Linked DNA regions of Homo sapiens: all the other regions are linked to region 2. Evidence: promoter capture Hi-C in human tissues and cell types (Jung and others, 2019). All regions are on one chromosome and are shown on one strand. The core of a region is centred on a gene start or on the middle of the fragment in contact, and the rest is flanking DNA. Distances in the headings are between cores, read along the strand shown.

What was found. The method cuts DNA at HindIII sites, captures the fragments that hold promoters and counts their contacts. A contact is called where the count stands out against the background at its distance.
Region 1: a contact is called between a fragment that was not itself captured here and the fragment with the promoter of CCM2L in region 2, in 2 of the 25 tissues and cell types used here (lymphoblastoid cells and mesenchymal stem cells).
Region 3: a contact is called between a fragment that was not itself captured here and the fragment with the promoter of CCM2L in region 2, in 2 of the 25 tissues and cell types used here (IMR-90 fibroblasts and spleen).

What each region holds. Positions count from the first base shown.
Region 1 is chr20:32,131,976-32,134,856 of GRCh38, reverse strand. It overlaps TM9SF4 (transmembrane 9 superfamily member 4), which reads right to left. Exons shown (of 18, transcript NM_014742.4): 2 at 1,731-1,844. Among named protein-coding and RNA genes, the nearest start is that of TM9SF4, 24 kb to the right of the region's middle. RefSeq lists an enhancer at 1,416-1,575. The HindIII fragment of the contact is 7,462 bases long and covers 1-2,881 here.
Region 2 is chr20:32,009,055-32,011,754 of GRCh38, reverse strand. It overlaps CCM2L (CCM2 like scaffold protein), which reads right to left and starts at 1,317. Exons shown (of 10, transcript NM_001365692.1): 1 at 1,271-1,317. The coding sequence starts at 1,300. RefSeq lists enhancers at 1-57, 968-1,495. The HindIII fragment of the contact is 15,048 bases long and covers 1-2,700 here.
Region 3 is chr20:31,920,071-31,922,770 of GRCh38, reverse strand. All of the region lies in intron 7 of TTLL9 (tubulin tyrosine ligase like 9), which reads right to left. Among named protein-coding and RNA genes, the nearest start is that of PDRG1, 31 kb to the left of the region's middle. The HindIII fragment of the contact is 3,940 bases long and covers 1-2,700 here.

The DNA of each region.
Region 1 (2,881 bases), core at 122-2,621, 120 kb before region 2:
TACTAAAAATGCAAAAATCGGCTGGGCATGGTGGTGTGCACCTATAATCCCAGCTACTCAGGAGGCTGAGGCAGGAGAATTGCTTGAACCTGGGAGGCAGAGGTTGCAGTAAGCAGAGATCATGCCACTGCACTCCAGCCTGGGTGACAGAGCAAGATTCCATCTCACAAAAAAAAAAAAGAAAAGAAAAAGAAAATTTCCAGATTTTAGAAGGCAATGTGGTATACAAACCATAGCCAAGCTGGGTCTGGACAGTACCTCATATTCGATAACTATTTGTGCAGAGAAATGCAAAGATATTCATATTAAGTGGAATAGAAAAAGTCAATAAACAGCTTCATGTTCAGTTCTGGTCAGTTCTTGCCTTCAGTGAGCTTGGAAAAACTGAGTTCCAGAGCTTTCCGGGTGTGAAACTGCAGGGATTAAGGACCTCTATTAAACATTTCATGAATTGCTTGAGGAAAAATGGCCAAAAAGTCTGTTTTAACAATTTTGTGTTTCTTAGCATTCTCACTCAGGACAATGAGAAAAGAATGCACGTTACAGAGAGATGCGTCCCACCTTTACGTTGCCTCCCACTCCCTCTCTTCCCACCCAAGGCGTCCACCCTCACATACTTAGCTATGTGGGACTGGAAGCCAGAGCAGCTCTGGTACCTCCAGGCCACTCCTCTGCTCTGGAGGGAGCTTTTGACAGAGGTAGTGGGAAGAAGGTACTGCAGTGGTTAAGAGATGGGGTCTTGGGCTGGGTGTGGTGGCTCATGCCCGATAATCCCAGCACTCTGGGAGGCTGAAGCATGAGAACTGTTTGAGCCCAAGAGTTCAAGACCAGCCTGTGCAACATAGTGAGACCTCATCTCTACTTAAAAAAAAAAAAAAAAAAATTAGCCAGGCATGGTGGTGCACACCTGTAGTCCCAGCTACTTGGGAGGCTGAGGCAGAAGGATCACTTTAGCCTGGGAGGTCAAAGCTGCAGTGAGCTATGCTCACGCCACTGCACTCCAGCTTAGGCAACAGAGAAAGACCACGTCTCCTCTAAATAGAGATGGGGTTTGAACTAACCCTATGTCTTCCTCACTATGTGACCTTGAACATGTTAATTTTCCTTCCCAGGCCTCGGTTTCCCCATCTGTAAAATGAATAGGAAATCTGTGTAACATATGGAATTGGCCCCAGTGGGTTCTTGGGGGGCAACCTGAGCTAAGCCATGCACAATGCCTGGCATGTAAATAACCCTCAGTAAAAGTTATTTTAATGACTGTTCCTGCAAGTTACAAGTCTGACTGCCAAGGAAAAGAGACGTTCACAATGTATGAACAATATGAGCAGACACTAGGAGTTATGCTGACAAAGCTGGTAACAGAGAAGATGGAGCAGGTGAGAAAGGGAGGCAGAGATGCTAAAGAAGAGGCAGGTGGAGTAAGACAAAGGCACAAAAAGAGATGGACACATACATGACAGAGACAGAATACTTGAAAGCAAAAGTGAGAGTGAGAAAGAGACCGAGATGCAAATATACACAAGCATACACAGGGACAGAGACACAGAAAGAACCAGAAACAGAGAGGGGACCGAGAACCAGAGGCACAGGGAGAGGGAGAGGCAGAGTTCCGGGGTAACTGGCACTATTCTTTCTTCTCTGCAACCACAGGATGGACACGAACAGCTCACCATGGTGCTCCAGACACACTGCCTAGCACAGAGGCTCCAAAAATCCAGGAACACACTTACCTTGATTTCTACGGGATCGTTCTGGTGGAAGTTGATAGGCGCGACCCCAGGCACATAGAAGGCGCTTGTTTCACACATCAGGGAGAAAAGCAGTAAAGACCACGGCAACCAATCCTGCTCAGAAGAGAGGCCAGGGTTGGATTGGGGAGAAGAAGTGAAGAAGATCCTCTGAGGCAGATCAAGTCATACCACCTTCATGTTGCTTTAATTGACCCAGTGTAGCCACCCTCTGACCCATGAAGCCTGAAGACCTCATAAATGTTCTCTCCCAAATGCTCCCAAGAGTGCCACAGGACAATTCTGCACTTCCAGGAGTTAGCCACAAAGTAATTAACATCTGGGCAAAAGGGAAGACTATCACACAGGAGCCATGTCTCCCCACTTCTGGATCAATGTTCTTTTAACCATTTATAGTGTGTAACTCCCAGGATAGCTGGCAGGAAATAAAGCTCCAGGACATTTAATTAATTCCCATTTCTCTGTATAGCAACTAGTTCACGCTGTCAAAAGCTCCTATGTTACCAAGAGATGTTCCTACAAGTTTCTCCAAAACCGTGCTGGCCTCTCTCACCTCCCACTCTCCTCCTCGCTCAGCTCAGCCACACGGGCCTCCTTGTTGTCCTGACAACAAACCTTTCTGCACCCCTCAGGGCCTTCGTCTTTACTGTGCCTTCTGGTGGAATGCCCTTCCCACAGGCACCTGCACGGCACATCTCTCTTCTTTTTTTTTTTTGAGACGGAGTTACCCAGGTTGGAGTACAATGGCATGATCTCAGGTCACTGCAACCTCTGCCTCCCAAGTTCAAGTGAGTCTCCTGCCTCAGCCTACCGAGTAGCTGGGACTACAGGCATCCACCACCTCACCTGGCTAATTTTTCTATTTTTAGATCAGACGGGGTTTCACCACATTGCCCGGGCTGGTCTTCAACTCCTGACCTCAGGTGATCTGCCCACCTCGGCCTCCCAAAGTGCCGAGATTACAAGTGTGAGCTACCACGCCCAATGGCACATCTCCTTATTTCATTCAGGTCTCTCAAATATCACTTCCTCAGAGAAGTCTGCACTGACCATTCTATCTAAAAAACAACCTCAGGGCTCCCATTACCCATTTCTCTAGTCCCTTATCTATTTCTCCTCATGGACTTATCTAA
Region 2 (2,700 bases), core at 68-2,567:
GGTTTTGCACATGCTGTTCCTCTGCCTCAAACACTCTTCCCTACCCACTTTCCTTCCACCCGTCAGTTCTCGACTCAAACTGATCAGTTTCCTCCAGCACTGAGTATGGGACCTCCTATGATTTTTAAAAAATTTTTATTTATGTATTTATTTATTTATTTTAGACAGAGTCTCACTCTGTCACCCAGGCTGGAGTGCAGTGGCGCGATCTTGGCTCACTGCAACCTCTGCCTCCTAGGTTCAAGCTTCAGCCTCCTTAGTAGCTGGGATTACAGGCATGTGCCACCATGCCCAGTTAATTTTTGTATTTTTAGTAGAGACAGGGTTTCGCCATGTTGGCCTGGCTGGTCTCGAACCCCTGACCTCAGGTGATCCACCCGCCTCGGCCTCCCAAAGTGCTAGAATTACAGGTGTGAGCCACTGCACCCGGCCCTTCTATGCAATTTTACATTAACTTATTTATTGCTTTAAAAAAAGAAATACCTGGTGCATAATAGGCACTCAATAAATGTCTATTAAAAGAACAAACTAAGAGAAAACATGCACGTATGTCTTGGCTCCCTTCTGAGCCCTCTGTGATTCATGTGGGCACCTTTTAGAACAGCCCGGACATATGTTTCTGGTGGGGGTGGGGTAGAGGGGAGGGTGGAAATGGGGGTAAGATGGAAGTTAAAATCAGAGCGCCTCCCTGAACTCCAAAGACAACCAGGTGAGACACCCAGAGAAGCATACTAGAAAACTTCAGAGTCAGAAGGGGTGAGGGGAATGGCTTCTGGCTGACGCCTTACATACGCCCTTGTAGAAAGGTGGGAGGGGCAGGGGGCAGGTGGGAGACTCAAGCCTGTGTAGGCAACATCCTATCGGAATTGCCCTGGCTGAGTCCTTCTGTTTGGGGCAGTGACGAGCAGGAGAATGGATCTGCTGGGTGTCTGTCTGTCCGTCTGTCTGAGAGGCTGCAGGAGGGAGCTGCGGGGAACACCAGGGAAGCAGGTGTGGAGAATCTCCCAAACTGAGTCCGTCTGGCCAGGTTTCCTGAGAAGGTCCCTGTCTGTCCACGTTAGGGATGCCAGAGGCCACTGAGAGTGGAGAAACAGGGAGTTTAGAGCCTGACTGTCTGGCTGTCCAAGAGTGGGAAGGAAGTTACTTCCAAATGAGAAGAAAGGCTCCACTTATGCCCCTCGCTACCGACCCCCCACCCCGCCCCAGTTTGCCCCCTTCCCCAGCTTTGGGGACATTCCTCTCCCTTCGTCCCTCCCAACCTCCCACCTACCTTCTTCCCTTTCTTGACTTCATATTCCATGGTGAAATGTCCCCTCTACTCCTGCCACCCTCCTGGCCATCCCTTCCACCCCCACATCCAGTTCCTTTGTTCTTTTTCCTGCCTGGTCGGAAACTCCACCAGCCCTGGAGTTCCTGCCCCTCCCATCTGATGGGGAGGGCAGGGGGTGTGGAGGACACAGCCTTGGGACCCTGCAGCTGAAGGGTGGAAGCCCAGGCAGAGCTGACCTGAGGAGGGAGGCTCAAGGCCTCTAGCCAGAAGGCGGGTTATTGGGGGAGCTTGGGAATTGGCCAAGGCTGGGAAAGGGCCCCCCACATTTGAAGTCCTGGTTTGGAAAATTCCAAGTTCCAGCCCTACTTCTGCCACTGACCTTGTTGTGTGACCTTGGCAAGGCAAGTCAGTTCCCCCTGTCACAGCCTGTTTCCCCCTCCTCTCTATAAGTTGGGAGTCAACACTGCCTCCCTCCCTAGGCTGCTGTGGTGAGAAATGAAAAGGTGGATGGAAAGTGCCTTATAGAGAGTATTGTAGCCAAGCAAGTTATGATTTTAAAAAATTAATCATTACTATTAAGGGAGGCAGTATGCGTGGGCTTTGAAGATAGGCTGCTTGAATTCGAATCCTGGCTTTGGCACTTACTAGGGTTATGACCTTTGGGAAGTCCCTTAACCACCAGTGCCTCAGTTTTCCCGTCTTTAAAATGAGCATAATACTAGTTTAACCTCATAGTGACCTTGCGGGGATTAAATGCACCTAGAAGAACTTCTGGCACATATTAAGTACTCAGTAAGGCTGGGCGTGGTGGCTCACACCTGTAATCCCAGCACTTTGAGAGGCTGAGGCAGGCAGATCACCTGAGGTGAGGAGTTCGAGACCAGCCTCGCCAACATGGTGAAACCTTGTCTCTACTAAAAATACAAAAATCAGCCGGGTGCGGTGGCACATGCCTGTAATCCCAGCTACTCTGGAGGCTGAGGCAGGAGAAGCGCTTGAACCTGGGTGGTGGAGGTTGCAGTGAGCTGAGATCCAGCCATTACACTCCAGCCTTGGTGACTGGCTGAGACTCCATCTCAAAAAAAAAAAAAAAAAAAAAAAAAACTGAAAAAAAATAAGTGCTCAGTAAACATTAACTGTTTACCTGCTTAGTGGTTGTCAAATTAAAGAACAAACAGAGGCTCTCTAAAATAAAAGATGTTTCACTTAGGAATTAAGCATTGCAGTGGGAATTACCCATATGCCATAGTAAGCGATGTGCATTTTCAGGGAGGTGGGGGGAAGACAAAGATTTTTAAAGGAAAAAAATAAGGATTACATTATTGTTTCTGAAATAATTATTCTTGATTGCAAAGATCAATAGCAAGGGTGATGCCAGTCTAAAGTTGGACAGGCAGTTGCTGGGCAGATGTCCTTGCGGAAGTATTTTT
Region 3 (2,700 bases), core at 109-2,608, 89 kb after region 2:
ACACAGCCAGTTAGTGGTGTTGCTGGGATGTGAACCTACATGGTCTAGGCCCAGAGCCTGAGTGTTTAAACTCTAGACTGGTGCTGCCCAGTAGGGCAGTCACTGGCCGCAAGACGCCATTTACATTTACCTTGATGAAAAGTAAATGAAATTACATGCTACAACATGGATGAAATTCGAAGACATAAGGCTAAGTGAAATAAGCCAGATACAAAAGGACAAATATTGTCTGATTCCACTTAGATGAGTCCCTGGAGTAGTCAAGTTCATAGAGATAGAAGGTAGATGGGGGTTGCCAGGGGCTGGGGAGAGGAGGGAACGGGGAGCTTGTGTTTAACAGTTACAGAGTTTCAGTTTGGGAAGATGAAACGTTCTGGAGACGGATGGTGGTGGTGGTGGTTGCACAACAATGTGAATGCACTTAGTGTGATAAAGCCACACACTTAAAAGAAGTTACAATGGTAAATTTCATGTTACAGATTTTACCACAATTTTTTTTTTTTTTTGAGAATGAGTCTTGCTCTGTTGTCCAGGCTGGAGTGCAGTGGCATCATCTTGGCTCACTGCAACCTCCACCTCTCGGGTTCAAGCAACTCTTGTGCCTCAGCCTCCTAAGTAGCTGGGATTACAGGTGACAGCCACCATGGTTAATTTTTGTATTTTTAGTAGAGATGGGGTTTCACCATGTTGGCCAGGCTGGTCTCGAACTCCTGACCTCAAATGATCTGCCCACCTCAGCCTCCCAAAGTGCTGGGATTACAGGTGTGAGCCACCACGCCCGACCCACAATTTTTTTTTATTATACTTTAAGTTCTAGGGTACATGTGCACAACGTGCAGTTTTGTTACATATGTATACATGTGCCATGTTGGTGTGCTGCACCCATTAACTCGTCATTTACATTAGGTGTATCTCCTAATGCTATCCCTCCCCCCTCCTTCCACCCCAAAATAAGCCCCGGTGTGTGATGTTCCCCTTCCTGTGTCCAAGTGTTCTCATTGTTCAATTCCCACCTATGAGTGAGAACATGCGGTATTTGGTTTTCTGTCCTTGCAATAGTTTGCTGAGAATGACGGTTTCCAGCTTCATCCATGTCCCTACAAAAGACATGAACTCATCCTTTTTTATGGCAGCATAGTATTTCATGGTGTATATGTGCCACATTTTCTTAATCCAGTCTATTATTGTTGGACATTTGTCTTGGTTCCAAGTCTTTGCTATTGTGAATAGTGCCACAATAAACATACGTGTGCATGTGTCTTTATAGCAGTATGATTTATAATCCTTTGGGTATATACCCAGTAATGGGATGGCTGGGTCAAATGGTATTTCTAGTTCTAGATCCCTGAGGAATCACCACACTGTCTTCCACACTGGTTGAACTAGTTTACAGTCCCACCAACAGTGTAAAAGTGTTCCTATTTCTCCACATCCTCTCCAGCACCTGTTGTTTCCTGACTTTTTAATGATCGCCATTCTAACTGGTGTGAGATGGTATCTCATTGTGGTTTTGATTTGCATTTCTCTGATGGCCACTGATGATGAGCATTTTTTCATGTGTCTGTTGCCGGCCCACAATTTTTAAGAAGGATATGAAATTATAAATCCAGTCCTCAGTCACACCAGCCATGTGGCAAGTGCTCAACATCCTGCATGTGGCTAGTGGTCACCGCATTGGAGAGCACAGATATCCATTTTCATCCCTCTAGAAAGTTCTGTTGGACAGTGCTGCCTACACCACCCATGGGCCCCCGAGGACATTGCTCCTTCTTCTCTACCTGCCAGCCCAGCTCTGGAAGACAGCAATGCTCTCATGCATCTGCACAGCACCTCGCAGGTTGCAAACACCTCTCCCACCTATTGTCCCCTTCACTCAAAGACAAGGGTCACACACTTGATGGGGTGACACAACAGCCCCAATAATGGCAGGCAGCACTAGCTCTCAGGGTAGACCTGCTTCACCCACCATTGTTCCCCACTCAGCTGTGTCAAGACAGAAGCAGCCAGGTCTTCCCTTCCTGGGACCTGGGCCCAGCCCTACCTCCACTCACGTGGCTGCCAGAGGGACTGACCGTGCTCCAGGCAGGCTGGGCCTCCAGGCTGCTGAGCTCTTTCCTGTAGTGCCCTGACAGTTTCATGGGAGGAGTCAAGACATTGAGCACTGCTGTGCGCCTCCTGGTACAGCAGGGGCTGGTCCTATAGGATTTCAGCCATCCTGCTCCTCCCACCCACCCTGCACCATCGTCACCGCTCAGGTTCAGAGGGCTTCGGTCATTTTCCCAAGACCACACAGCTGCTGAGTGGGAGAGGCAGGATTTGAACCAGGATTTCTACTGTACTGTGTCTTGGGACAAGAATGGATTGGGGTTGGGAGGTAGCTGCCCCCGAGGCTCAGTCTAGGCCCTGAGGAAGAGTCAGCCAAACTCTCCCCAGCCACGTGAGCAGGAGGCCCAGATAAAGAACGTGCATCGAGCGCTGAGTGCCAGGCACTGTGCTGGGTGTGTGGGTGTGTGTGAGAATGTGTGTGTGTGTGTGTGTGTGCGCGTGTTTGCTTATTAGCTCACTGCATCCTTAGCAGGTATAATTACCATCCCCATTTACTGGGGCACTGACAGGTGAAGTAACTTGCTCAAGGGCACACAGCTATTGAGTGACTGAGTGGCAAGATCAGGATTTGAACCTGGACAATCTGGCTCTGGA